5 separate regions of the Homo sapiens genome follow, and regions 2, 3, 4 and 5 are each linked to region 1. The links are contacts of gene promoters, found by promoter capture Hi-C in blood cells and fetal thymus (Javierre and others, 2016). All regions are on one chromosome and are shown on one strand. Each heading gives the region's core, a stretch centred on a gene start or on the middle of the fragment in contact. The rest is flanking DNA. Distances are from core to core; before and after follow the strand shown. Region 1 holds the start of ARCN1 (archain 1 coat protein complex I subunit delta). Region 2 holds the start of HYOU1 (hypoxia up-regulated 1). Region 3 holds the start of SLC37A4 (solute carrier family 37 member 4). Region 4 overlaps SCN2B (sodium voltage-gated channel beta subunit 2). Region 5 holds the start of JAML (junction adhesion molecule like).

What was found. Contacts are between HindIII fragments. The CHiCAGO score rates a contact against its expected background, and 5 or more counts as called.
Region 2: a contact is called between the fragment with the promoter of HYOU1 here and the fragment with the promoter of ARCN1 in region 1, in 1 of 17 cell types (non-activated CD4 T cells). The highest score is 5.6, in non-activated CD4 T cells.
Region 3: a contact is called between the fragment with the promoter of SLC37A4 here and the fragment with the promoter of ARCN1 in region 1, in 1 of 17 cell types (total CD8 T cells). The highest score is 5.1, in total CD8 T cells.
Region 4: a fragment that was not itself captured here is called in contact with the fragment with the promoter of ARCN1 in region 1 in 1 of 17 cell types (erythroblasts); the score reaches 6.2 in erythroblasts.
Region 5: a contact is called between the fragment with the promoter of JAML here and the fragment with the promoter of ARCN1 in region 1, in 2 of 17 cell types (neutrophils and erythroblasts). The highest score is 5.6, in neutrophils.

The regions. Positions count from the first base shown.
Region 1 is chr11:118,569,700-118,574,656 of GRCh38, reverse strand. It overlaps ARCN1 (archain 1 coat protein complex I subunit delta), which reads right to left and starts at 2,248. Exons shown (of 10, transcript NM_001655.5): 1 at 2,107-2,248. The coding sequence starts at 2,109. It also overlaps a transcript of IFT46 not described here. RefSeq lists enhancers at 1,867-1,946, 2,457-2,586. The HindIII fragment of the contact is 8,662 bases long and covers 1-4,957 here.
Region 2 is chr11:119,055,002-119,059,958 of GRCh38, reverse strand. It overlaps HYOU1 (hypoxia up-regulated 1), which reads left to right and starts at 2,754. Exons shown (of 26, transcript NM_006389.5): 1 at 2,754-2,939; 2 at 3,792-3,889; 3 at 4,116-4,209; 4 at 4,388-4,466; 5 at 4,620-4,774; 6 at 4,899-4,957. The coding sequence starts at 3,799. RefSeq lists enhancers at 2,247-2,296, 2,656-3,155, 3,156-3,656 and silencers at 2,527-2,806, 2,897-3,176. The HindIII fragment of the contact is 24,437 bases long and covers 1-4,957 here.
Region 3 is chr11:119,029,627-119,034,583 of GRCh38, reverse strand. It overlaps SLC37A4 (solute carrier family 37 member 4), which reads left to right and starts at 3,707. Exons shown (of 10, transcript NM_001467.6): 1 at 3,707-3,735. RefSeq lists a silencer at 4,093-4,252. The HindIII fragment of the contact is 18,338 bases long and covers 1-4,957 here.
Region 4 is chr11:118,171,600-118,176,556 of GRCh38, reverse strand. SCN2B (sodium voltage-gated channel beta subunit 2) reads left to right here. Exons shown (of 4, transcript NM_004588.5): 1 at 1-195. The coding sequence starts at 126. Among named protein-coding and RNA genes, the nearest start is that of SCN2B, 2.6 kb to the left of the region's middle. The HindIII fragment of the contact is 1,312 bases long and covers 595-1,906 here.
Region 5 is chr11:118,222,452-118,227,408 of GRCh38, reverse strand. It overlaps JAML (junction adhesion molecule like), which reads left to right and starts at 2,398. Exons shown (of 10, transcript NM_001098526.2): 1 at 2,398-2,468. MPZL3 (myelin protein zero like 3) reads left to right here. Exons shown (of 6, transcript NM_198275.3): 6 at 1-719. The HindIII fragment of the contact is 17,664 bases long and covers 1-4,957 here.

The DNA of each region.
Region 1 (4,957 bases), core at 999-3,498:
AGGACATTCTGCACTTCAATAACTAAAGCCAAAGGGAATTTATTTTTTAAAAAATCAATGTTTACGTACTGATATCTGCAACTTACTTTGAAATGTATATTTTTTTTTAATGGAGAGAGGGATGGATGGATGATTAGATGCATGATAAAATATAGTGAAATGTTAGTTATAGAATCTAGTTGGTGGTTATATGGGTATTCACTACAAAGTTCTTTCAACTTTTCCAGATGTTGGAAAATTTCATAATGAAATGTTGAGCTAAAATAAACGCTGGAAATTTTGATACAACTTTTAGATAAAAATTTCACCCTATCTGGACATTTCTACTGTCCAGGGATCTGTTTGTAAAGGAGCAGGACCCAAAAACATTACACAGAAATCATACCAATGTCTTAACACTCTACAGAGCAGAATGTACTGAGATAAATTGTTCTCCAGAGTACACAAATCTGTGGGTATCTGGATCATGTTAAGTCCCAAATAATTCAGAAATATGTGACACAACTCTATGTATACGTACACATGTCAAAATAGCATGCAAAAGTTATATTTTATATATATCACGTAGGGCTTTACCATCCCTCAGTTATCAATGAATTAAAAATACTAAGTTCCAAGAACCTTTTAACAAAGAATATTTTTAGAAAGATTACCTTTATCTGGTTTATATAATACAAGACCTTAACTTTACTATTAAAATAAAAATATGCTCTAAAATGCATTATTAATTCCAGGGTGTAAACGGGAACTGAGTTTCAAAATCACTAACCAAATACAGAACCTCCTGGAGAAACTGAAAATACAAGTTTCTGGAAATTTTGTGTCCAACACAAAAATTTTAGGAGGCAAACCTGTTTGATGCAATTTATATACCTGAGGCTGAGAAAAGCTGTTCAGTGGCCTAAAGTCCAAGCATGAATTCCCCCCATTATCCAAGTTCTTATCTAAAGGGTTGTCAATAGAACTTATTAGGATTGCCACCAAATTACATTCTGCCATCTCTCAGGTACACTGGACGATGTTTTAAATCAAGTTATCTATTGACAAAAGAATAAAAAAGAACAGAACAGAACATCCTTCAAAAGACTAAAGGACATAAGGTGCACTGAAAAATAAATTACTAGCTTTTTTGAAACCAAAGAATGTCTACTACTTCATGAATATCCACAAATCACAGCGATAAAGGAAGATTGAGTGATGTCAGCAGTTCTGATTTCCTCCATCCTCAACCACATTAACCTTTCTCATCCTTGTAACAGATGAGTATACAAAGATAACGCATGGGAAGGCAAGTAACTGGTCTCGGAGGCTAACCCATCCCTCTTACTCCACCTCCTGTGAGACATCTGACTACGACATGCCACATACACATTTTTCTTCACCTGGACAATAAGTTCCTTGAAGGCAAACCCTGTGTTCTCTGGAACCTGCTCACATTTTCCCAGTGGTCTACACAGTGTATGTACCCCGAGTCACACTAACAAATGGACACAAGTGAGTTCTGCGGAAGTAGTGGAAGGTTTCAGAGACACTTGGGTCCTATACATTAGTGTTAGAAGTTACTCCTTTCCGCTCTGTGTCTCCATTTCCCCCTTCTGAACAAAAAGAAAAATTTCTGGACACCAGTGGATTTGCATTTCGAGTTATCAACGGCCTAGCAAACACCGGGGGTGGGAGACAAGCTCTGATTAACAGAAGGACCAGAACCTCCGGAGACAGGCCCAGCCTGCTGAGCCTAAGCGCCAGGGAACCGGCGGGACAGCATCAGTTCCGAGGTCCGCAGCCTGGGACCCGCACCACCACCACGAAGTTCTCGCAGAGCAAAAACGCCGGGCCGTCTCAGGGGCAGGTCCCAGCAAACGAGGGAGTCCAGCTGGTTGGGGGGTGGTGCGGAAGCGGGCACGACGACAGATGGACTGGAGTCAGCTCCATCGGATCTCCAGGAGACCGGGCACAGGAGGCCACACTGCTCCCCGAGCCCGGAGCAAAAGCACTCTGCCCTAGACCCTCAGGGCGGGGCTCCTCCGGCCCCTGCCCCAGGCCCGCCGACAAGGAGAGACGGTGAGGCTCGGACCCCAGGAGTTCGGGTCCTGGCTCGGATCTTACCATGGTGAGGGCGGTGGTGGGGCGCGCCCGCACTCCGGCTCCACTGGGGATAGGGGTAGGGTCTGGGGAACGGGAGCACCAGCAGCTCTGGACCTGCTGCCCCCTTGACAGGAACCGCTGCCGCTTCGCCTCTTGCCAAGATGGCGGCCCCAAGCCACGTCTTCAACCGGAAGCGGCGCAGGTCAAAGGGCGGGGGGGGGGGCGGGGCCTGTGGGCTGGGGAAATTGAGGGTACCCCGCTCCGGTTACGATTAAGCCCAGGAGGTGTAGGGGGCGTTCACCCTCCAGCTGTGGAACCTCGTATCTCTCCCCTTTCACTGTCATCGCCTTCATTTATTTTGCGTCACATCTTACAGTTTAACAAGCCGCTGGCACAGCCACTATTATTTAATATACAGGATAACCTGTGTGCCTAAAAGACCAGTATCCGGAATATATAAAGAACTTTTTTTTTTTTTTTTTGAGATGGAGTCTCACTCTGTCGCCCAGGCTGGAGTGCAATGGCGTGATCTCGGCTCACTGCAACCTCCACTTCCCAGGTTCAAGCGATTCTTCTGCCTCAGCCTCCGGAGTAGCTGGGATTACAGGCACGCGCCACACCACGCTCGGCTGTTTTTTGTATTTTTAGTTGAGACGGGGTTTCACCATGTCGGCCAGGCTAGCCTCAAACTTCTGACCCCAAGTGATCCGCCCGCCTCAGCCTCCCAATGTTGGGATTACAGGCGTCAGCCACCGCGCCTGGCCTAAGAACTCTTATAACTCAGCAATAAAAAGACAAATACAGTATTCCTGTCTAAAAATGGGCTTCATCTGCAAAATGGAGGGAGTAGAAAACACAAAATTAAAATGAGCAAAAGATTTGAATAGATATGTGTCCAAAGAAGATATATAAATGGCTAATATGCACATTAAGAAATGTTGAATATCCTTAGGGAAATGGAAATCAGACCCGTGGTGAGACGTCATTTCACACTCACTAGGATGGCTATCATAATAATTGTTGGTGAGGATGAATGTAAAATAGTGCAGCCACGTTGGAAAAGAGTTTGGCAGTTCCTCAAAAAGTTAAACAAAATTACCACATGACTGAGCAATTCCACTCATAGGTACATACCCAGGAGAACTGAATATATGTCAACACAAAAATGTGTACTCTAATGTTCATAGCAGCATTATTCATAGTAGCCAAAAAGTGGAGACAATCCAAACAAATCCATTCATCAATAGATGTGGCATATATATGCAATGGAATATTATTTAGTCACAAAAAGGAATAAAGTACTGACATGCTACAATATGGATGAACCTTGAGAATATTATGTGAAAAAAGACGGATACAATGGGGCACTCATATATGATTCCATTAATACGAAAGATCCAGAATAGAAGAAAATCCACAGAGACAGAAACTAGCTTAGTGATTTCCAGGGGCTCAGGAAGGGTAGGAATAGAGAGTGACAGTTAATTAGTGTAAGATTTATTTCTGGAATAATTAAAACATTCTGGAATTAAGCCAGGCATGGTGGCATGATCCTAGAGTCCCAGCTACTTGGGAGGCTGAGTTGGGAGGATGGCTTGAGACCAGGGGTTAAAGGTCAGCCTGTGCAAATTGTGAGACTTAGACTCTTAAAAAAAAAATAGTTCTGGAACTAGATAGAGGCAAATATACTAAAAACCACTAAATTGTATAATTTTAAAAGGTGAATTTTTATGATTTGTAAATTATATCTTTAAAAAAACATGCACTGGAAGCAGGGCAGTTGTGCTCATGTCCATTTTGTATATGAAGAAAATGGTGAAAAGTTTAAGTGACTTACCCAAAGTTTCTAAACCAGTATATGATGGAACCAAGACTCAAAATCTGTTCTTGTGATTCTCATGTTATTTCTTGTATGCCAAATTTCAGATTTTTCAGAGTATAGCTGATTCAGTAGTTCTTCCTTAAATCATTTTATCCTACATCCTTAGCTCAACCGAACAGCACTCATCCATATTAAACCTGTATGTCCACAATTAAGTATAATAGCAACTTTTAATTGAGTGCTTCATTTGTGTCAGGTACTTTACACATGTTATTTCCAATCTTTTACATCAATCCAAATAAAGATACTGAGGATCAAAAAAGTTAAGCATTTGTCCAAACTCACACAACTAGTAAGTGGTAGAGCCAAGTTCAAAGTCAGTTTTCTCCTGGCTGGGCGCGGTGGCTCACGCCTGTAATCCCAGCACTTTGGGAGGCTGAGGTGGGCGGATCACAAGGTCAAGAGATCGAGACCATCCTGGCCAACATGGTGAAACCCCATCTCTACTAAGAGTACAAAAAAAAAAAAATTAGCTGGGCATGGTGGCGCGTGCCTGTAGTCTCAGCTGTTCGGGAGGCTGAGGTGGGGGAATCCTTGAAGCTAGGAGGCGGAGGTTGGGTTGCAGTGAGCCGAGATCATGCCACTGCACTCCAGCGTGGCGACAGAGGGAGACTCCGTCTCAAAAAAAAAAAAAAAAAAAAAAAGCTGGGCGTGGTGTCTCATGCCTGTACTCCCAGCTATCTGGGAAGCTGAGGCATGAGAATTGGTTGAACCTGGGAGGCGGAGGTTGCAGTGAGTTGAGATCACAACACTGCCCTCCAGACTGGGCAACAGAGTAACACTCAGTCTCAAAACAAACAAACAAAAAAACAAAGTCAGCTTTTTCCATTAAAACACACTGCCTCTGTATCTCCTGTGTGTTCCCTAACATTTATTGAACACTTACAGCATACCAGCCATTACTCTAACTTCACACAGATTATCTCATTTAATCCTCACAAGAATCCTCTGAGATAGGTACCTTTATTGTCTCCATTTTACACATGAGGA
Region 2 (4,957 bases), core at 1,505-4,004, 480 kb before region 1:
CTCTCCCTCCCCCTCCCCCTTTCCCCAGGGTCTCCCTCTCCCTCTCTTTCCACGGTCTCCCTCTGATGCCCAGCCGAAGCTAGACTGTACTGCTGCCATCTCGGCTCACTGCAACCTCCCTGCCTGATTCTCCTGCCTCAGCCTGCCGAGTGCCTGCGATTGCGGGCGCGCGCCGCCACGCCTGTGTTTTTTTGGTGGAGACGGGGTTTCGCTGTGTTGGCCGGGCTGGTCTCCAGCTCCTAACCGCGAGTGATCCGCCAGCCTCGGCCTCCCGAGGTGCCGGGATTGCAGACGGAGTCTCGTTCACTCAGTGCTCAATGTTGCCCAGGCTGGAGTGCAGTGGCGTGATCTCGGCTAGCTACAACCTCCACCTCCCAGCCGCCTGCCTTGGCCTCCCAAAGTGCCGAGATTGCAGCCTCTGCCCGGCCGCCACCCCGTCTGGGAAGTGAGGAGCGTCTCTGCCTGGCTGCCCATCGTCTGGGATGTGAGGAGCCCCTCTGCCCGGCTGCCCAGTCTGGGAAGTGAGGAGCGCCTCTTCCCGGCCGCCATCCCGTCTAAGAAGTGAGGAGCGTCTCTGCCCGGCCGCCCATCATCTGAGATGTGGGGAGCGCCTCTGCCCCGCCGTAGCCACCCCGCCAGCCGCCCCGTCCGGGAGGGAGGTGGGGGGCCAGCCCCCGCACGGCCAGCCGCCCCGTCCGGGAGGGAGGTGGGGGGGCGCCTCCGCCCGGCCGCCGCCCCGTCCGGGAGGTGGGGGGCGCCTCTGCCCGGCCGCCCCTTCTGGGAGGTGAGGAGCCCCTCTGCCCGGCCACCACCCCGTCTAGGAGGTGTACCCAACAGCTCATTGAGAACGGGCCATGATGACAATGGTGGTTTTGTGGAATAGAAAAGGGGGAAAGGTGGGGAAAAGATAGAGATCGGATTGTTGCTGTGTCTGTGTGGAAAGAAGTAGACATGGGAGACTTCATTTTGTTCTGTACTAAGAAAAATTCTTCTGCCTTGGGATGCTGTTGATCTATGACCTTACCCCCAACCCTGTGCTCTCTGAAACATGTGCTGTGTCCACTCAGGGTTAAATGGATTAAGGGCGGTGCAAGATGTGCTTTGTTAAACAGATGCTTGAAGGCAGCATGCTCGTTAGGAGTCATCACCACTCCCTAATCTCAAGTACCCAGGGACACAAACACTGCGGAAGGCCGCAGGGTCCTCTGCCTAGGAAAGCCAGAGACCTTTGTTCACTTGTTTATCTGCTGACCTTCCCTCCACTATTGTCCTATGACCCTGCCAAATCCCCCTCTGCCAGAAACACCCAAGAATGATCAATAAAAAAAAAAAAAAAAAAAAAAGGAAGAATAGACTCTCTCTGGGACTGCCAATAATTTTTCCTTCTAAGCATAGACACCGGACCACTCTCCACCTAAGCATCACGAAAAATGTAGAGAAAGGAAGAGCTAAGAGCTCCTTAAACAAGTTCAGGCTTGACACAACCCTGGCCCTGACAGCCAGGGTCTTCAAGCGGGCCTTTCTGTGAAGGGTGGCCAGGCATCAACTTAGTAGGAGAGAAAACAGATGACTTATTTCCATCCACACTTAAGGAAAATGCAGTCTCCAAGGACTGCGTACATTTCTTTTTCGAGAAGGAGTCTCGCTGTTGTCGCCCAGGCTGGAGTGCAGTGGCGCAGTCTGGGCTCACAGCAACCTCTGCCTCCCGGATTCAAGCAATTCTCCTGCCTCAGCCTCGTGAGTAGCTGGGATTACAGGCACCCGCCACCACGCCTGGCTAATTTTTGTAGTTTTGGTAGAGACGGGGTTTCACCATGTTGGCCAGGCTGGTCTCGAACTCCTGACCTCCAGTGATTCGCCCGCCTTGGCCTCCCAAAATGCTGGGATTACAGGCGTGAGCCACCGCGCCCGGGCGACTGCGCACATTTCTATGGAGCTGTAAGTTAAAAGAGAAGGCAGTGAGGTGCTTCTGTCATTCTATGACAGAAACAGCTAAAGAGTAGAGAAATGTTCACAAGATTTAATAGAACAGAAATAGGAGAAGGTGCACACAAGCTCAACCAACTATAGCCTCACAAATAAAAGTGTCTTTTGTGTGTAGTACTTAAGTTTGGAATATTCTTTCTTATACAAATGAGTGGGGCTTAACCTAAGAAATCCTGGCCAGATTCTGCGACGAATGCATCGGTTATCTCTGACCCATCAGCAAACATCTTTTTCTGTGGCTTCAGTTTCCTCAGTAAAACAGAGGGGGTTGCGACGGACTCAGTCCGAGGGACAGCCATTCTCCAACGTCTATCCAAAGCCTAGGGCACCTCAATACTAACCGGCAGGCCAGCGCCCCCTCCGCGGGGCTGCGGACAGGACGCCTGTTATTCCATTCCTCGGCCGGGCTCTACAGGTGACCGGAAGAAGAGCCCCGAGTGCGGGACTGCAGTGCGCCCGACCTGCTCTAGGCGCAGGTCACTCCCGAACCCCGGCAGCAAAGCATCCAGCGCCGGAAAAGGTCCCGCGGTCGCCCCGGGGCCGGCGCTGGGGAGGAAGGAGTGGAGCGCGCTGGCCCCGTGACGTGGTCCAATCCCAGGCCGACGCCGGCTGCTTCTGCCCAACCGGTGGCTGGTCCCCTCCGCCGCCCCATTACAAGGCTGGCAAAGGGAGGGGGCGGGGCCTGGGACGTGGTCCAATGAGTACGCGCGCCGGGGCGGCGGGGGCGGGGCCGGGCGCGCAGCGCAGGGCCGGGCGGCCGAGGCTCCAATGAGCGCGCGCCGCGTCCGGGGCCGGCTGGTGCGCGAGACGCCGCCGAGAGGTTGGTGGCTAATGTAACAGTTTGCAAACCGAGAGGAGTTGTGAAGGGCGCGGGTGGGGGGCGCTGCCGGCCTCGTGGGTACGTTCGTGCCGCGTCTGTCCCAGAGCTGGGGCCGCAGGAGCGGAGGCAAGAGGTAGCGGGGGTGGATGGAGGTGCGGGCCGGCCACCCCTCCTAGGGGAGACAGCGTGCGAGCTCCGGGGGCGGGTCGGGAGCGCAAGGGAGGGCCGCGCGGACGCCGGGCGCTCGGCCTCGCACCGGGGGGCACGCAGCTCGGCCCCCGGTCTGTCCCCACTTGCTGGGGCGGGCCGGGATCCGTTTCCGGGAGTGGGAGCCGCCGCCTTCGTCAGGTGGGGTTTAGGTGAACACCGGGTAACGGCTACCCGCCGGGCGGGGAACCTTACCGCCCCTGGCACTGCGTCTGTGGGCACAGCGGGGCCGGGGAGTGAGCTGGGAAAGGGGAGGGGGCGGGACAACCCGCAGGGATGCCGAGGAGGAGATAGGCCTTTCCTTCATCCTAGCTACCCCCAACGTCATTACCTTTCTCTTCCCGTCCAGGCCCAGCTGGCTTTCCCCGTCAGCGGGGGAGCTCCAGGTGTGGGGAGGTGGTTGAGCCCTGGGCGGGGATCCCTGGCCGCACCCCAGGTGTCTGACAACAGGCACAGTGCTGCGGTGCGCCACTCACTGCCTGTGTGGTGGACAAAAGGCTCGGGTCTCCTTTCTCTTGTCCTGTTAGCTTCTCTGTTTAGGGATGTGGCAAAGCCGAGGACCCATGCTCTTTCACTTGGGCCTTTGTGTGGGCGCTGCTGGGATGATTAGAGAATGGTTTGTACCCATCAGGAGGGAGAAGGGGAGAAGTAGGCTGATCTGCCCTGGGTAAGAATGAAGTAGATATGAATCTTACAGCCTCTCCGTTCTGGGATGTGATTCTGTCTCCTTCACTCCGGGTATCCAGTTTTAAGTGTTTTCTTTCTTCGCCTCCCCCAGGGGCACTATGGCAGACAAAGTTAGGAGGCAGAGGCCGAGGAGGCGAGTCTGTTGGGCCTTGGTGGCTGTGCTCTTGGCAGACCTGTTGGCACTGAGTGGTATGTACCCCAGTAGAGGGAGCAAATGGATAAATGATGACTGAAGGATGCATGATGGGAATTGAGCTTGGGGCTGTTGGCCAGAAGTCTCTTGAGTTGTTAGGTCCAGGCCTTTTTGTCTTTTGCCATCTTCGTTTACCCATGGAAAGTGGTATGCTTTGATTAGAGGGAGTCCCAGGAAGGTGGGCGAAGGGAGAGCTAACTGACAAACCTCTTTTCCCTTCAGATACACTGGCAGTGATGTCTGTGGACCTGGGCAGTGAGTCCATGAAGGTGGCCATTGTCAAACCTGGAGTGCCCATGGAAATTGTCTTGAATAAGTGAGGGTGGCCCCCGTGTTAAGGGTGGGGAACGAGGGAGTCTGGGCTCCAAGTGTGAATGTGTTAGTCATAGTGCCCACAGCAGACTTCGGCATCTGAGTGGTTAAATGTGTGTGAGTGTCGAGGCTTCTGAGTCCTTCTGCTGCAGGCACCTGGGCCCAAAATCTCTTTTCCTCAGGGAATCTCGGAGGAAAACACCGGTGATCGTGACCCTGAAAGAAAATGAAAGATTCTTTGGAGACAGTGCAGCAAGCATGGTGAGCTAGCAGTCCCTCTTCCCAGAGTGGTGGGCAGAGGAGAGGAGATGGCAGCCCCCAGAGTCTGTTTCCTTATCAGTCTCTGTGATGTAAGAGGTAGGTAATGGTGGACTTGGGAGCCTAATACTAGTCTGCTCCTTCTTCACCCCTCAGGCGATTAAGAATCCAAAGGCTACGCTACGTTACTTCCAGCACCTCCTGGGGAAGCAGGCAGATAACCCCCATGTAGCTCTTTACCAGGCCCGCTTCCCGGAGCACGAGCTGACTTTCGACCCACAGAGGCAGACTGTGCACTTTCAGATCAGCTCGTGAGTGCTCTGTTGGGGAAGGTGGTCTCGGCAACGCTGCTGGGCTCCTCATTGGTGTGTGTTCCTGATTGTCCTGCCTTAATGCCTGGCTTTCCTTGGCTCCAACTACCTTCCTTCCCCTCAGGCAGCTGCAGTTCTCACCTGAGGAAGTGTTGGGCATGGTTCTCAATTATTCTCGTTCTC
Region 3 (4,957 bases), core at 2,458-4,957, 460 kb before region 1:
CTGGAGTGCAATGGCGCCATCTCAGCTCACTGCAACTTCTGCCTCCCAGGTTCAAGTGATTCTCCTGCCTCAGCCTCCTGATTAGCTGGGATTACAGGTGTACACCACCACACCCGGCTAATTTTTGTATTTTTAGTAGAGACAGGGTTTCACCATGTTGGTCAGGCTGGTCTCGAACTCCTGACCTCATGATCCGCGCGCCTCAGCCTCGCAAAGTGCTGGGATTACGGGAGTAAGCCACCATGCCCGGCCTATCTTCTCATTTCTTAACATTCTTTGGAAATACAGTGAGCAAACTAGCATTTGAGTCCCTACTATCCTGATCATAAAGTGCTTTAAAATGTTTTTCCATTTAATTCCCACTGACTGGGTGCGATGGATCATGCTTGTAATCGCCGCACTTTGGGAGCCTGAGGCAGGTGGATAACCTAAACTCAGGAGTTTGAGACTAGCCTGGCCAACATGGCGAAACCCCCTCTGTACGCCGGGTGCGGTGGCTCACGCTTGTAATCTAGCACTTTGGGAGGCCGAGGCGGGTGGATCACGAGGTCAGGATCGAGACCATCCTGGCTAACACAGTGAAACCCCGTCTCTACTAAAAATACAAAAAATTAGCTGACCGTGGTGGCGGGTGTCTGTAGTCCCAGCTACTCGGGAGGCTGAGGCAGGAGAATGGCATGAACCTGGGAGGCGGAGCTTGCAGTGAGCCCAGATGGTGCCACTGCACTCCAGCCTGGGCGAGAGAGCGAGACTCTGTCTCAAAAAAAAAAAAAAAAAAAAGAAAGAAAAAGAAAAAAAGAAAGAAAGAAACCCTGTCTGTACTAAAAATACAAAAATTAGCCAGGCGTGTTTGCGGGCACCTATAATACCAACTACTCAGGAAGCTGAGGCAGAAGAATCGCTTGAACCCAGGTGGCCTGGTCCTGTAGTCTTAGCTACTTGGGAGGATCGCTCAATGCTCAGGAATTTGAGGTTAGAGTGAGCTAAGATACCATTGCACTCCAGCCTGGGCAACAGAGCAAGCCTGTCTCAAAAACAAACAAACAAACAAACAAACAAACAAAAAAAACAGACCGGGCGCAGTGGCTCACGCCTGTAATCCTAGCACTTTGGGAGACCGAGGTGGGCGGATTACCTGAGGTCAGGAGTTCGAGACCAGCCTGGCCAATAGGGTGAAACCCTGTCTCTACTAAAAATACAAAAATTAGCTGGGCGTGGTGGCACATGCTTGTAATCCCAGCTACTCAGGAGGCTCAGGCAGGAGAATGGCTTGAGCCCAGGAGGCAGAGGTTGCAGTGAGCCGAGATCCTGCCACTGCACTTCAGCCTGGCCGACAGAGCAAGACTCTGTCTCAAAAACAAACAAACAAACAAATAAACACCATCGACCAGGCACAGTGGCTCATGCCTGTAATTCCAGGATATTGGAAGACCAAGGCAGGTGGATCCCTTGAGCTCAGGATTTCGAGGCCAGCCTGGCCAATATGGTGAAACTCTTGTCTCTACAAAAAATAGAAAAATTAACCGGGTTGGCTGGGTGCAGTTGTTCATGCCTGTAATCCCAGCACTTTGGGAGGCCAAGGGGGGCAGATCACCTGAAGTCAGGAGTTTGAGACCAGCCTGACCAACATGGAGAAACCCTACCCCTACTAAAATTACAAAATTAGCTGGGCATGGTGGGGCATGCCTGTAATCCCAGCTACTCGGGAGGCTGAGGCAGGAGAATCGCTTGAACCCCAGAGAAGGAGGTTGCAGTGAGCTGAGATCACTCCACTTCCAAAACAAAACGATAGGGCTGTTAATTTAGGTGGTGGTTACACGGGTATTAACATGTGTAAAAAATCACTGAGTTGTACATGTAAGATTCCTGCACTTTTTGTATTTTATTATGTGTATGTTAAATCTTAAAAATAAAAGCGGAGAAAAACCTGATGGCTTCCTACTCCTCTATTAGGTAAAGTAAGAATCTGCTCTGGTTTGGTTTCGGAGGAACTGTTTCCTGGTCCTTGGATCTACCTGGCTGAAAGCACAGTGCCTGGTACAAACTAGGCTCCTCCCCGATTTTGAATTAACGAAGTTCAGTGACATCGTCATCCTATTTTTTTTTTTTTTTTTTTGAGACAGGCTCTCGCTCTGTCACCCAGGCTGGAGTGCAGTGGCACGATCTCGGCTCACTGCAACCTCTGCTTCCCAGGTCCAAGAAATTCTCCTGCCTCAGCCTCCCCAGTAACTGGGATTACAGGCGTGTGCCACCAAGCCTGGCTAATTTTGGTATTTTTAGTAGAGACAGGGTTTCACCATGTTGGCCAGGCTGGTCTCGAACTCCTGACTTCAAGTGATCTGCCCGCCTTGGCCTCCCAATGTGCTGGGATTACAAGCATGAGCCATCGCGTCCGGCCTGTCATCCTATTTTATCTCATCTCCTCCTCCTCCCTTCCCTGACCATCTTCTCTGGAGTAAAAGATCTTTGCTCTCAATTTTGGAACACTTACAATTCCTTCAGCCACTCTTGTTAGGAAGATATAAGGGAAGAGAGCGAGAGACAGGAGGCAACTCAACGGCCAAACAGGTTTATTCACAGGAATAAGCCTGCAAGGAGTTCCAGTCAGGAGTCTGGCTGAGACCCTGATCGCTTACAAGCTGAGGCTTTTATAATATCGTTTCTATTGGGGAGAGGTCGGGAAGTGCTGGCTGATTGGGACTGTTGGGGACTTTGTTAGGCTATGTTACCTTCTGTTGAAGCTATGGGCAGGGTTAACATTTGCTCTGTTTCTGAGAACACAGTCATCATTGTTGTAAAATAGCATCACTACTGTTACTCCTCACAACTCTTAACTGGGATCAGTGAAAACCATTGTTGTTGAGAACTCTTATAGAATTTCTGAGCTCTTATCTAAATCATCTGTTGAGTCTTCACAATGATCTACCAGGCTGGTAGGAAACGGGAGCTCATAGAGATTAACCAAGGTCATACAGTTAGAATGCTGTGGGTCTAGGACTAGAATTTGATATTTACTCCAGGCCCCGTCTCTGTCCCCAACAATCTAACCACAAGTTAAAATTCCAAATTGTGGGCTGGGCGCGGTGGCTCACGCCTGTAATCCCAGCACTTTGGGAGGCCGAGGTGAGCGGATCACGAGGTCAGGAGATCGAGACCATCCTGGCAAACACGGTGAAACCCCGTCTCTACTAAAAATACAAAAAATTACCCGGGCGTGGTGGTGGGCGCCCGTAGTCCCAGCTACTCGGGAGGCTGAGGCAGGAGAATGGTGTGAACCCGGGAGGAGGAGCTTGCAGTGAGCCGAAATCGCGCCACTGCACTCCAGCCTGGGCGACTGAGCGAGACTGTTTCAAAAAAAAAAAAAAAGAAAAAAAGAAAATACTGTGTGTTCCTACAACACCTTTCCCAGACTGTGAGCAACTTGGGAACAATGATTATCACCTTAGTGTTCGGTGTGTTTTGTAGAGGAGGGCACTCACTAAAAACTGGTTTGTTGAATGCAACCACTTAAGAATTGGACATGCCGTGCCCAGCCCCTAAGGGGCGCTATGCTCGTTCGTCCAAGGAGCAGCGTGACCAGCGGGAGGGAGTAAGTCGACGTCCCCGGCATGTGGGGCGGGGAACTCCACTGGCCGGCAAGCGAAGCAGCAGGCGAAGACCACGCCCCCGCCGGCCGCGCTTGCGCAGCCTTCGCTAGCCCCGCCCCGTCCTATTCGGGCTCCCGCCTCTGTTCAGGTAGGAGGCGGTATGCGGGGGAGGGGAGTCACCTGAGGGCGGGGATCTCAGGTCTTGGGGAGCCATTGTTGGCGAACCCCAACTTCCGATACGACCCGGAGCTGTTCCTGCAGTTCCAGAGACAATTCATGGGTCTTGGGGCCACCGAGGCGCTGTCCCTGACCACCAGCACGAGACCCCTTTCTATCGCGCCAGTCCTGTGGTCTCCGCACCTCTCCAGCTCCTGCACCCCCGGCCCCCGTGGTTCCCAGCCGCACAGTAGCGTGTCCTGGGTAGCGTGAGGACCCACGGGGCTGGGCAGGTGCCACGAGCCCGCCGCCTCTTCGCCGCCCGCCGCCTCTCCTCCTCTCCCGCCCGCCGCCTGGCCCTCCCCTACCAGGCTGAGCCTCTGGGTGCCAGAAGCGCGGGGCCTCCGGGAGAATACGTGCGGTCGCCCGCTCCGCGTGCGCCTACGCCTTCTGCTCCAGTTGCTTTCCCAATTGAGCGGAAAAGCCGGGGCATGTTGCCGGGGCCCTGGGCGGGACGGTTGTGCCCTGCAGCCCGAAGCCCGCCGGGGCACCTTCCCGCCCACGAGCTGCCCAGTCCCTCTGCTTGCGGCCCCTGCCAACGTCCCACAGGTTGGAAACCAGACCCTGCAGCCCCCAGCTAGCCCGAAGGAAGCCCAGACTGACGTCGCAGGGTAATGGGGACCCAGAGGTAGCTCTGTGGGGCCCCATCAGGACCTCAGCCCTTAGCGGGGCTTTCTGTGTGACACCGTGGGACCTGAACTGGGGAGGTCCCCCTTGCACAGAATTACAAGGGGCAACTGTAGGAAACAATTAAATCTATTATGTGCTAAGTATTGAGAGTTCCACGGATTGAGGCCCTCTCTAGAAGGCTTAGAAGTGGGGTAGCCGGGGTATGTGTCTGACTTTGTGTTTTGGTGCGGTGGTGGTGAGTGGGTGTAGAAACTAATAGTGCCAAGTGCAGTGCCTGTCAACTAGTAAGTTAATAAACCTTCCGTGAATGAATGAGAAGGTTCTGTGACTGAGGGAGCAGGGCTAGAGAGGGCATCTCTGCTCATCCCACCCCTGCCTCCCCTGGGCTCAGGCAGACAAAAGTAATTAGGTTGAACCTTTAATCAAAGCTGGTTTCACAGGCAAGCAGACATGATAGAGGAGGTAAAGGCAGAAATCCTGGGGACACAGGGTGCTGGCCTGGCTCACAGGCATGCCTCCTTCCG
Region 4 (4,957 bases), core at 1-2,500, 400 kb after region 1:
GTATATGTCTTTGAAGTACATCCGTGCATTTTTTTTTAGCATCCAACCATTCCTCCCTTGTAGTTCTCGCCCCCTCAAATCACCCTCTCCCGTAGCCCACCCGACTAACATCTCAGTCTCTGAAAATGCACAGAGATGCCTGGCTACCTCGCCCTGCCTTCAGCCTCACGGGGCTCAGTCTCTTTTTCTCTTTGGGTAAGTTAGACACATCTGCATGCTCCCGAGGGTTCAGAAGTGTAGCCGCAATGTGAAGAGGATGGGGGCAGGGGATAGGAAAGAAGACATTGCTAGCGCTTTCCCTCTGTGTCCTTGGGAGGGGAGGTGCTGGGGACTGGAAGGGACGTTGCTGGGGAGTGCAGAACCCTGGGACTACTTAGTCACAGAAATGTTGGGTCAGGGGATCTGAGTGTTGCTGGGGGCTGACAATTGTCAAGGGAGGTGAATCTTCTCTGGATTTCCCCTAAGTGGACCTACGTGGCGGTGGGGCAGAGAGTGGATTGACCTGCAGTCTCTTCAGGGATTATTTTTTGGAGTTGCTGCAAATGCGGGGTCCTGGGACTTAATGCTCCCTTAAGGGGCTTCTTTTCAGAAGCTTGATCCTGGTGGATTTAGGGTATTAGGAGAGTGTGCAGGGGAGCTGGTGGCAGAAAGTTGAGTCTGGGTCTGGCTTCTTGGCACTCGGTCTCACTGATCTGTTGGAACGTGTGTGGGAGTAGGTGGGAAGCGGGCTTGGGGAATGATGTCTGGGTTGGGAGGAGACCTGCTGAGGCACGCACTGATGGAGAAGGCACCTTTGGCTTGGGCCGGATGGAATGGAGGAAGGGCCAGGTGTAGAGATTCAGGAAAAAAATGGAACCCACAGGCTGAGCGAGGTTGCAGCCCTTTAAATCCAGCCTCAGAACTGCCCAGCCCAGTCTTGCAGACTGTCCTGTCAAGTGTTTGTATTTGACCACTCAGAGACTTCCTGGTGGGGAAGTGGGCTAGAAAGTTATTTGCAAGCCTGCTTTGTAGAGTTTCATTCTTGCTCCTAAACTTACTTATTGCTGGAGCAGCAACTGAGAGTCAAGTCCAAGGACTGTTGATGGAACTATTCCCCACCACAAAGGCTCTCTCTCTTTCTGTGGTGTGATGTGCTGGGTTTGGAGTAGGAGTGCTAAACACAGACAGTGCAGAGGCCCTGCCAGCCTGCTTTGCTGAGTTACTTGGCATATTAACATCAGAGCAGGAATGCTATGGAATCTCTGGCAGGACCTGGGTTTCAAGCCACCTTTGTCATTTACGTAATGATCACAGGCAAGTTACTCAACCCCTCTGAGCTTCAGTTCCCTCCCGGGTAAACTAAAGAATGCCTACTGCCTGACGTGTTTGTGATTTGGTGCATGGCAGGAACTCAACGATGGCTAACATAAGAATGCTTTTCGTGAGCCCAGGCACTGTGTATCTTGTTTAGCCCTCACAGCAATCGGAGGTAGATTCTATTATACTCAGGTTACAGGGAGGAAACAGATGACTATGGTAACGGGAGCTGAAATTTGAACTCCCTGTGTCTGACTTCAGCACATTCTCTTAAACGTTGGATTCCACTCCCCAATGTTCAAGAAATGGCACTGCTATATTAACAGTACCTAATTGATCAGAGTCTCAGGACAGGCTGAAAGAAGGGGAGTTGGGTGAGTGGCCTGTTGTAAGGAGGCCCAGCTGGAGGACAGGACCCTTTCCTCAGGAGTTAGGAAGCACTTCGTGCAGGAGAGAAGCCGCCTGGTGAGAGCCATGGCTAAGTAAAGATAGAAAGGGGGCTCAGTGACCAGGACCCAGAGCTCTGGGCTAGGGTGAGGAAGAGGGAGTCTGCGATGAAGAGGTCTGAGTGTTTGGGGTGGGGAGATGGTAGTGGGAGGAAGCTAAAGCTTCTGCAAAGCTGAGTGGGAGAGGATGCAGGAATGGGGACCTTGAACTTGAACTTGATTGGTGCTGTAATGAGGCATGTCCCTGGCACTCCAATGCTGAGGGCCGAGTTGACAGTGGAACTTTGGTGGTGTTGCAGTAGCATCGATCCCCAGGATGGAGGATGCCACAAGTGACGAGGGAGGGGACTCTGTCGGGGCTGGGCTTGTGGGGATGACTATGGAGGTGGCAAAGAGAAAGGGCAGGTGGGCAACCAGCTCTACCCACGGCAGAAGCATATGAGGCTAGTTTTAGCCAGAAACAATTCAAATGACTGGGCTTCCCTCAAGTTTTTCTTGAGACCGTTGACTCCACAGTCACTGGCCTGCTTACCAATGTATGGATTATGTTAGTGGAGGCATAGAAAGTGGAGTCTGGGCTGAGCATGGTGGCTCACGCCTGTATCCCAGTGCTTTGGGAGGCCGAGGTGGGAGGATCGCTTGAGGCCAGGAATTGGAGACCAGCCTGGACAACATAGCAAGACCCTGTCTCTACAAAAAAAAAAAAAAAAAAAAAAAAAAAAAGAAAAGAAAAATAAGCCAGGCATGGTGGCATGTACCTGTAGTCCTAACTGTTCCAGGAGGCTGAAGAAGGAGTATCAAGAGTTCCAGGCTGCAGTGAGCCGTGATCATGCCTCTGCACTCCAGCGTGGGCAGCAGAACCAAACCCTGTCTCTTAAAAAAAGAAAGAAAGAAAGAAAGAAAGAAAGTGAAGTCTAGTCCTCACTCTAGCCCACTGCACATATCTGCTGCTTGTGGTGGTGGGGACCCAGACATGGAGAGAAAGCTGTCTCTTCTTCCTTTAGTAGACTTTATTGAGTCCCCACTCTGCCACACACTGTCCTGGGTGCCAGGGATACCAAGATGAATAGGAGTCAGTTCCCCGGAGCCTCTAGAGGGAAACAGGCCCATGAACAAATAATAACAAGACAACATTGTATGTATGGCAACAATAATAGCAATAATGCTCATCATAGTCGCAGCTGACTTTTGTCCAGGCCATGTGCTAGGCACTGTGCTGAGCTTCATACAGGTAGTAAGTCATTTAATCCTTCGACAGCCCTATGAAGTTGGGCTTATTGTCCCCTATATTACAGATGAGGAAACTGAGGCACTGGGAGGTTAACTATCCTGCCATTCTGCCCTCAAGTCATGTGGAAGAGATAGGAACAGGGCTGGGGTGAGGACAAGGACAATGGGGAAACAGTCACCGAGGCTAATGCCCTGTAAGCTGGGACCTGAAGAATAAGTAGGAGGGGCCCAGGGGCAGGAGGGCAAATGAGCTTCTCAACCTGAAGCAAAAATACGTGCAAAGGCATGGAGAAGGGAAGGAAGGTGGTGTTTTCAGAAAAAATCAGAACTGGGGTCACTGGAGTGAAGGAGACCTGGGGGGATGGGGGCTGGCAGGGGATGAGGCTAGGGTATAGGTTGGTCCCAGATGCCAAAGGGCTTGGAAGCTGTGCCCAGGAGCCTGGACTTGATCCTGAAAGCAGTGGGTAGCCGTTGGAGGTCTGGAGGTGAGGAGTGATGAGGGTGGGTTGCTCCTGGCTGCACGGGGATGGACTGGAGTGGCCGGGGTTGGGGAGGCCCTTGAGCAGGAAGGGTCTGGATGGTAAGGCAGTGCAGGTGCGGAGATACGGGCTGGATGCCACACTCACCTGGGAGGCAGGGGCTGCCCCGGGAGACAGTTCATCTGTTTAGACACTTAAAAAAAAAAAAAAAAACCAAGAAGAAAATAATTACCTCATAGGTTGCTGTAGGGTGGAAAGAGGAGTGAAGAGATTAACTTCCAGTCTCTGCAAGAGACAGCATTTGGCAGATGAGCAAATTTTTATAGTCTCTGCAAGATGGGCTAGTTAGAACAGTGGATGACACGAGGCCTGAGGGCCCAGATGTGCCTTGGAGACAGCGGGTGGCCCGCCACTGCTGAGGTTTTGGATCTAAGATCAGAAGCCTCATCCCGTTGATGATCTTTTCCCTTCTGTGAGTTGAAAATCAGGAGACACAGGCCCCAGACCTGGTCTCAAATGGGACAACCAGGAAGATTGTGGGCCCCCCTTGTATGGAGGTTCCTTTAAATGGTACAATTCCCTGCTGGCGGGCCTGCCTGGAGTTGGACCTGCCATATAGTCGGCAAGAGATCGGATGCCTTGGAATGGGGCTCACTTCACCACTCAGCTTCAATGCCTCAACCCAGTCTGGAGCCAGGCAGGCTGGCTTCAGATTCTAGCTTCGCCTCTTACTAGCCGTGAACTTGGGCTCGTCTCTTAACTTCTTTGTGCTCCATCTTCCTCATCCGGAATGTGGGAGCGATAACAGGTTTTGTTAGTATTAAATGAGGTGATGTATGTAGAGTATGTAGACAGTGCCTGGCTCGTTGTAAGCATTTTGTAAGGGTTTGTGGCTGTGATGAAGTCCTTTCTGTGGCCTTGGCCATGCATTCGGGTGCTTTCCCGAAGCAGGAGAGTTAATCAAGAGACCAGAGTTTTGCTCACAGCTCTGACCTTGTTGAGCCATGGTCCCCTCGTCTTTAATGAGGGCCCGGACTGGCGGGAGGTCTGAGGCCAGCACCCTAGAGCTGCTGGGATTCTGGTGAGGCCACAGGCTTACGTGGAGATATTGGATTAGGGGCTAGGAACCATGATTCTGGCCTCAGCTTGTCCCTATTCTCTGTGTGTGGCTCTCATGGCCTTTCCTCACCGGTAAAACAATGGGGCTAGATCTACGGTTTCTGATCTCAGCTCCAGCTGTGGCTCCGGATCCCATGCTCGCTCCGCAGGATGGAACTTGACGTTTGACTCTGTGACCACTAGAGGGCACGCGTGTTCCGCCCGGTACCTTCTGCAGGGCCCCGCTGCAGGGTGGGGAGGGGGAGCCCGCATTGCACCTCTCCGGCTGCCCCCGTCCTGCCGGCCAGAAAAGGCGCCCCCGCACTCCTCTCTACCCTGCCCTCCCCCACGGCAGGGTGCTAGCTCCTTCGAGATGGTGAGGTTCAAGTTCTAATCTGGAGCACTGCC
Region 5 (4,957 bases), core at 1,149-3,648, 350 kb after region 1:
TGGTCTTTTTTTGTTTACTTATTTGTTTCACCTCTTGTTTGAGTAACTTCTAAGGTGCTATTCTCTCTCTCTTTTTGCTACCTCATGAGCTCTTGTCACAGCCATGGAAACCAGCCTCGTTTAGAAAGGGAACTTAGTTCAGAAGGGGTTAAAAGCCTTCCAGAATTTTTCTTTAGCTGCTGAAGTTTTTACATGTGGTTACATGACTTTAAGTTTTATGCATTACGCTCTTAATTCTATTACAAAATGTGGACTCACCAATTGCTTTGTGTTTTCCATGTGACCTGTTACTTCAGGCTACTTGGGGAACATCTTAGTCCTCTGTAGCTCCTGAACCCAGCACTGGTGCTTCAAGAGAGAAGGTAGCACGTCTTTGTTCAAAACAAAACAAAACGACACTTCTGGAGGCCACATCCTGAATATGAATGTTCTACTAAGTCACTCAGTTATGGTTCTAAAGGGAAACTGTAAGAAGACCCACAAGGAGTGGACCAAGACTATTATTTAATTGCACAACTTGAAACTTTGCTGCCAGAAGAGGCAGCTCCATTCCTTTGACTCCAGTGTTGGGCTGTTAACTGCTGCACCTCATTGCCTTTTTTTGTTTTTGTTTTTGTTTTGTAGGAGGGTAGGCACTGTTGGGCCATATGCACAAATATTGTAACTCTTGGTATCTTTACTGCATCATAGTCAATAAACTTCTTTGTACCCTTTGGCTACCTTTTGGTGTGTGCATATCTACATAAAAGGTGGGAATTGTCATGTGAAAAAGATGGGGGTTTGTGGTATTAAAAGCTGAATTAAATTTAAAAGAGTTTAATTGAGCACAGAATGATTCATGAATCAGGCAGTCTCCTGAGCCAGAGTGGACTCAGAGACTCCAGCGCAGCCACGTGGTGGAAGATTTATGGACAGCAAAAGGAAAGTCATGTACAGGAAACAGAAGTGAGGTACAGAAATAGCCGGATTGGTTACAGCTCGGTGTTTGCCTTATTTGAATAGTTTGAATCATTGGCCATCTTCGATTGGCCAAACTCAGTGACTGGCACAAGAGTAGACTAGAGTCCGTATACTATTCCATTTACGTTATAGTTCATGATGTACAGAGAAACCTTTAGGCCAAACTTAAAATATGTAAGGAGGCAGCTTTAGGCTAAACTTGATTTAACAGTGGTTTTCAGCATCGTGCAACCAGTCATGTCGGAGCTGTACCCCCGCAAGAACCTGCAGAGGTTCCGTGGTGTGCTGGAACCAGCTTACATAGCAAGAGCTGATTACAGGCTGAGTACCCCTAATCTGAAAATACAAAAGAGTGGTTGCTATTTCAACTCCAAAATCTGTAACTTTGAGTGCCAACATGATGCTCCAAAGAAATGCTTATTGGAGCATTTTGGATTTTCAGACTAGGGACGTTCAACTTGTATGTATTCGGCAAATATTCTAAAATCTGAAAAAAATATGAAATCTGAAACATTTCTGGTCCCAAGCATATTGGATAAGGGATACTCAACCTGTATTAAGTTTTTTAGGAATTTTGCAAGCCAGTTGTTAAACTGTTGGTAGCTTGAAATAGGTTATGATGGGAATATTTATGCTGTGGAGATTGCTGGCTCTCTAGCACATCACTTCTCAAGGACCATGCAGCGTAGTGCTTGGGAGCAAACGTTCAACAGCTTTTCAGATGATACAGGACAAGTTCCATGAGTCTGCCCATGCCTAGGTCAAGCCAATCTAGCCGAGGTTGAAGGTGCGTACATTGAGAACACCTATTTTGAAGTGGTGACTAAGACTGAGAGGTATCTTGAAGTGAAGAAACCTTGAGTTCTAATCTAGGATGTCCAAGTCACCCAAGAGGTTCTCTATGGGAATCAATGGCTGCCTGTATTCTGGAAATGCTGATATCACATGGCCAGAGGAAACTTTCATGTCTACATGGTGAGTTGGAGGACTGGGCAGGCGTATCTTTGGAAGCAGGGATTGGGTGATTGCCTGGCGAGGTTGCACCTCTGTTTTGAGAGGAAAAATAAAAGAGGTTGCTGTATCTTTAACACAGAAGGTTTTGTGTTAATATTACGTTTATTGTATTTTGTTTGCATGAAATGGATTTCTTTCTCAGCACCTATTTGCCTGGTGCCATTCAAGCTCCTACCCTCAGAGGGCTTGTCATCTAAAAGGGGAGATGGCACCTGAAGAGGTCTGAGTGTGAGGTTCACCTCAGTAGGTTGAATTTGTCACCTCTTTTTAGAATGAAAGTATACATAACAATTGGGTAATGGGCCAGATGACTGAAATGAGAACCTTGATTTAGAGGTTCCTGTTTGCATCTCTGCAACCACTTCAGAAGGCACGTGTTTGGTTTGCTCTGAGCCTAACCTAGAGTGCTCGCAGCAGTCTTTCAGTTGAGCTTGGGGACTGCAGCTGTGGGGAGATTTCAGTGCATTGCCTCCCCTGGGTGCTCTTCATCTTGGGTAAGCAGTTGCTTTGAATTTCTTAAGCCATTTTTTGAACTTTTCTCACACAGAAGTGTGCCAGTCCTGAAGGCTGGTTGAATTGGTAGTCTCTCAGGATTGTGAAGCTGCGATTGCAGAACTCTTGATCTCTGCAGGGGGATGTCATAAAGTAGTCTAATGGGTGCTGTTTCAGTTACTGTCGTGTAGAGTAACTTAGGTGAATCTCCTCAGCAAAAAGAGGAGCAAAGTTTCATCATAATAAGAGTACGTGACAATGATTATGACAAGGCTTCAGCTTTTAAGTCACCCGTGGGTTTAGGTGGAGCTGTGACTGGCTGTTCTTGAGCTCACAGCAGAGCTCTTTCTTCACTGTTTTTCTTTTTAGAAGACAGTTTTTAATTTTATTTTTAAACAAATTTTATTGTGTGTATTTAAGGTATACAACATGATGTTGTGGGATGCATGTAGATAGTAAAAAGTTTACTATGGTGAAGCAGATTAATATATCCATCATTTTACATAGTTATACCACTGTTTTTCTTCTCCCCATTATAGACAAACCAATATTTAACCTTTAGAAGCCCGAGACTTAAATCTCCCAAGAAAGCTAGGCTACTGTCCATGCTTGTTACACCCTCAGCACAGCCCTGACCTTGGGAAAGGCTGATGCAGGATGGTTTAGGTATAACCTACTCTGGAGAAGAGAGCAGGAGTAAGGACCTCCAGGGTCCCATTCGCGTAGAGCATTAACCGATGTGACCTAGACTGTGTTACAGAAGCCACGTGACCTACCAGTCTGTATTCAATGGCTTAACAATGGAAAATGAGGGCATATTTTAAGACGCATGGCTTAGAGTGGTTATATGGACTTGTAGACCTAAAAACATCTGAGAGCCTAGAAGTGCACAGCAGTGTGCAGATAGATTGAGAGGACTTGGCTCTGCAGGTGGACAACACTCTGTGAGTAAAAGAAGGCTGTGCAGTTGTCCGTTTGCTCAGTGGTTAGTTGTCCTTACTAGGGACAAACACTGAGAGACAGCAGCTCTCCCTTATTTTGTCTCATGATATTGTAATTTGGGGGGTAACTTTCACATCTTGTATGGTAGTCTCATTGTAGCATGTCTCTTTTCTGAAGATTTCTTTTCTGTAATATAAAGGGGTATGGATTTTTTGGAGGGAGGGGGTGCCACTTGTTCTCATTACCCAACAGGATATGGAGGAGAGTTGCTCAGAGAAGATTAGTATAGAGTCACTACAAGTCATTTAGGTAGCCAAAATGATAACTCCAAAATTTCTAAAAGGCAAAAATCTTTACTTGCTGATAGAGGGGAGAGTCAACTTTCCAAGCAGGTCGCAATAAAGACAGCATGATGCCAACCGAATCTATTTCCTCTCTCCTCCTTTTTCTGTTGTTTATTAAAAGGTAAACAAAAATCTCATTATTTTAAAATATTATGCAAAAATCTTGTTTATGAGAGAAAGCAAAATTTCACCTTTGCATTAGTATATTATTAATGTTAGATCCAATTCTTAATAAAACCTTATAAACAAATCTATACAATCATAGTTTGACCATAAGGTAAAACGTCCACAAACCTCTCATAATTCTTTACAATTTTCTGTTAAACAAATAAATTCTCTAGAAAACCATTATTCAGACACATGGGCCCGGATTCTGGCCCTACATCAGTGTGCTTTTATTTCAGTGTTCGACCTATGGAAAAACTAAGTAATCCCCTTTAAATCTTAGCCAACCTGCTTATACCCACAGAACTTTTCATGAGATTAACCCTTCACAAACCCTTTTCAACTTGCTTAAACCATCAGTTTTGTCACATTACTCTTTTTTTTTTTTTTTTTTTTTGAGACAGAGTCTCACTCTGTCACCTAGGCTGGCATGCAGTGGCACAATCTCGACTCTCTGCAACCTCCGCCTCCCGAGTTCAAGTGATTCTCCTGCCTCAGCCTCCCAAGTAGCTGGGATTACAGGCGCTCACCACCACACCTGATTAATTTTTGTATTTTTAGTAGAGACGGGGTTTTGCCATGTTGGCCAGGCTGGTCTGGAACTCCTAACCTCAAGTGATCTCCCCACCTCAGCCTCCCAAAGTTCTGGGATGACAGGCGTGAGCCACCATGCCCAGCTGTCCCATTACTCTTTTAGGTGAGGCCAATAGTTAAAACCCTCTGAGCTAGACAAAATTACGTTCTCTTTAACAGAAACCATATTCACACGCCTTCTTATAACCTCCCACCAAAACACATTCTTTACTTACACTGTCTTTATTTTTTATGTTATTTACACTGTCTTTATGTTTAAAAATCATTAGAGTCACGTGACCTAAAAGAGATTAAAGTTTCAATTTTTTCTGATAAAATGTTTGATTTTAGTTTCTTTAAGCCAATTAATTAGAGCTCTTTTATATAAATACTATACATACAACACATATAAATACACAGACAGACAGAAATGGAAAATCAAGACAAAATTCCATTGACTGAGAAGT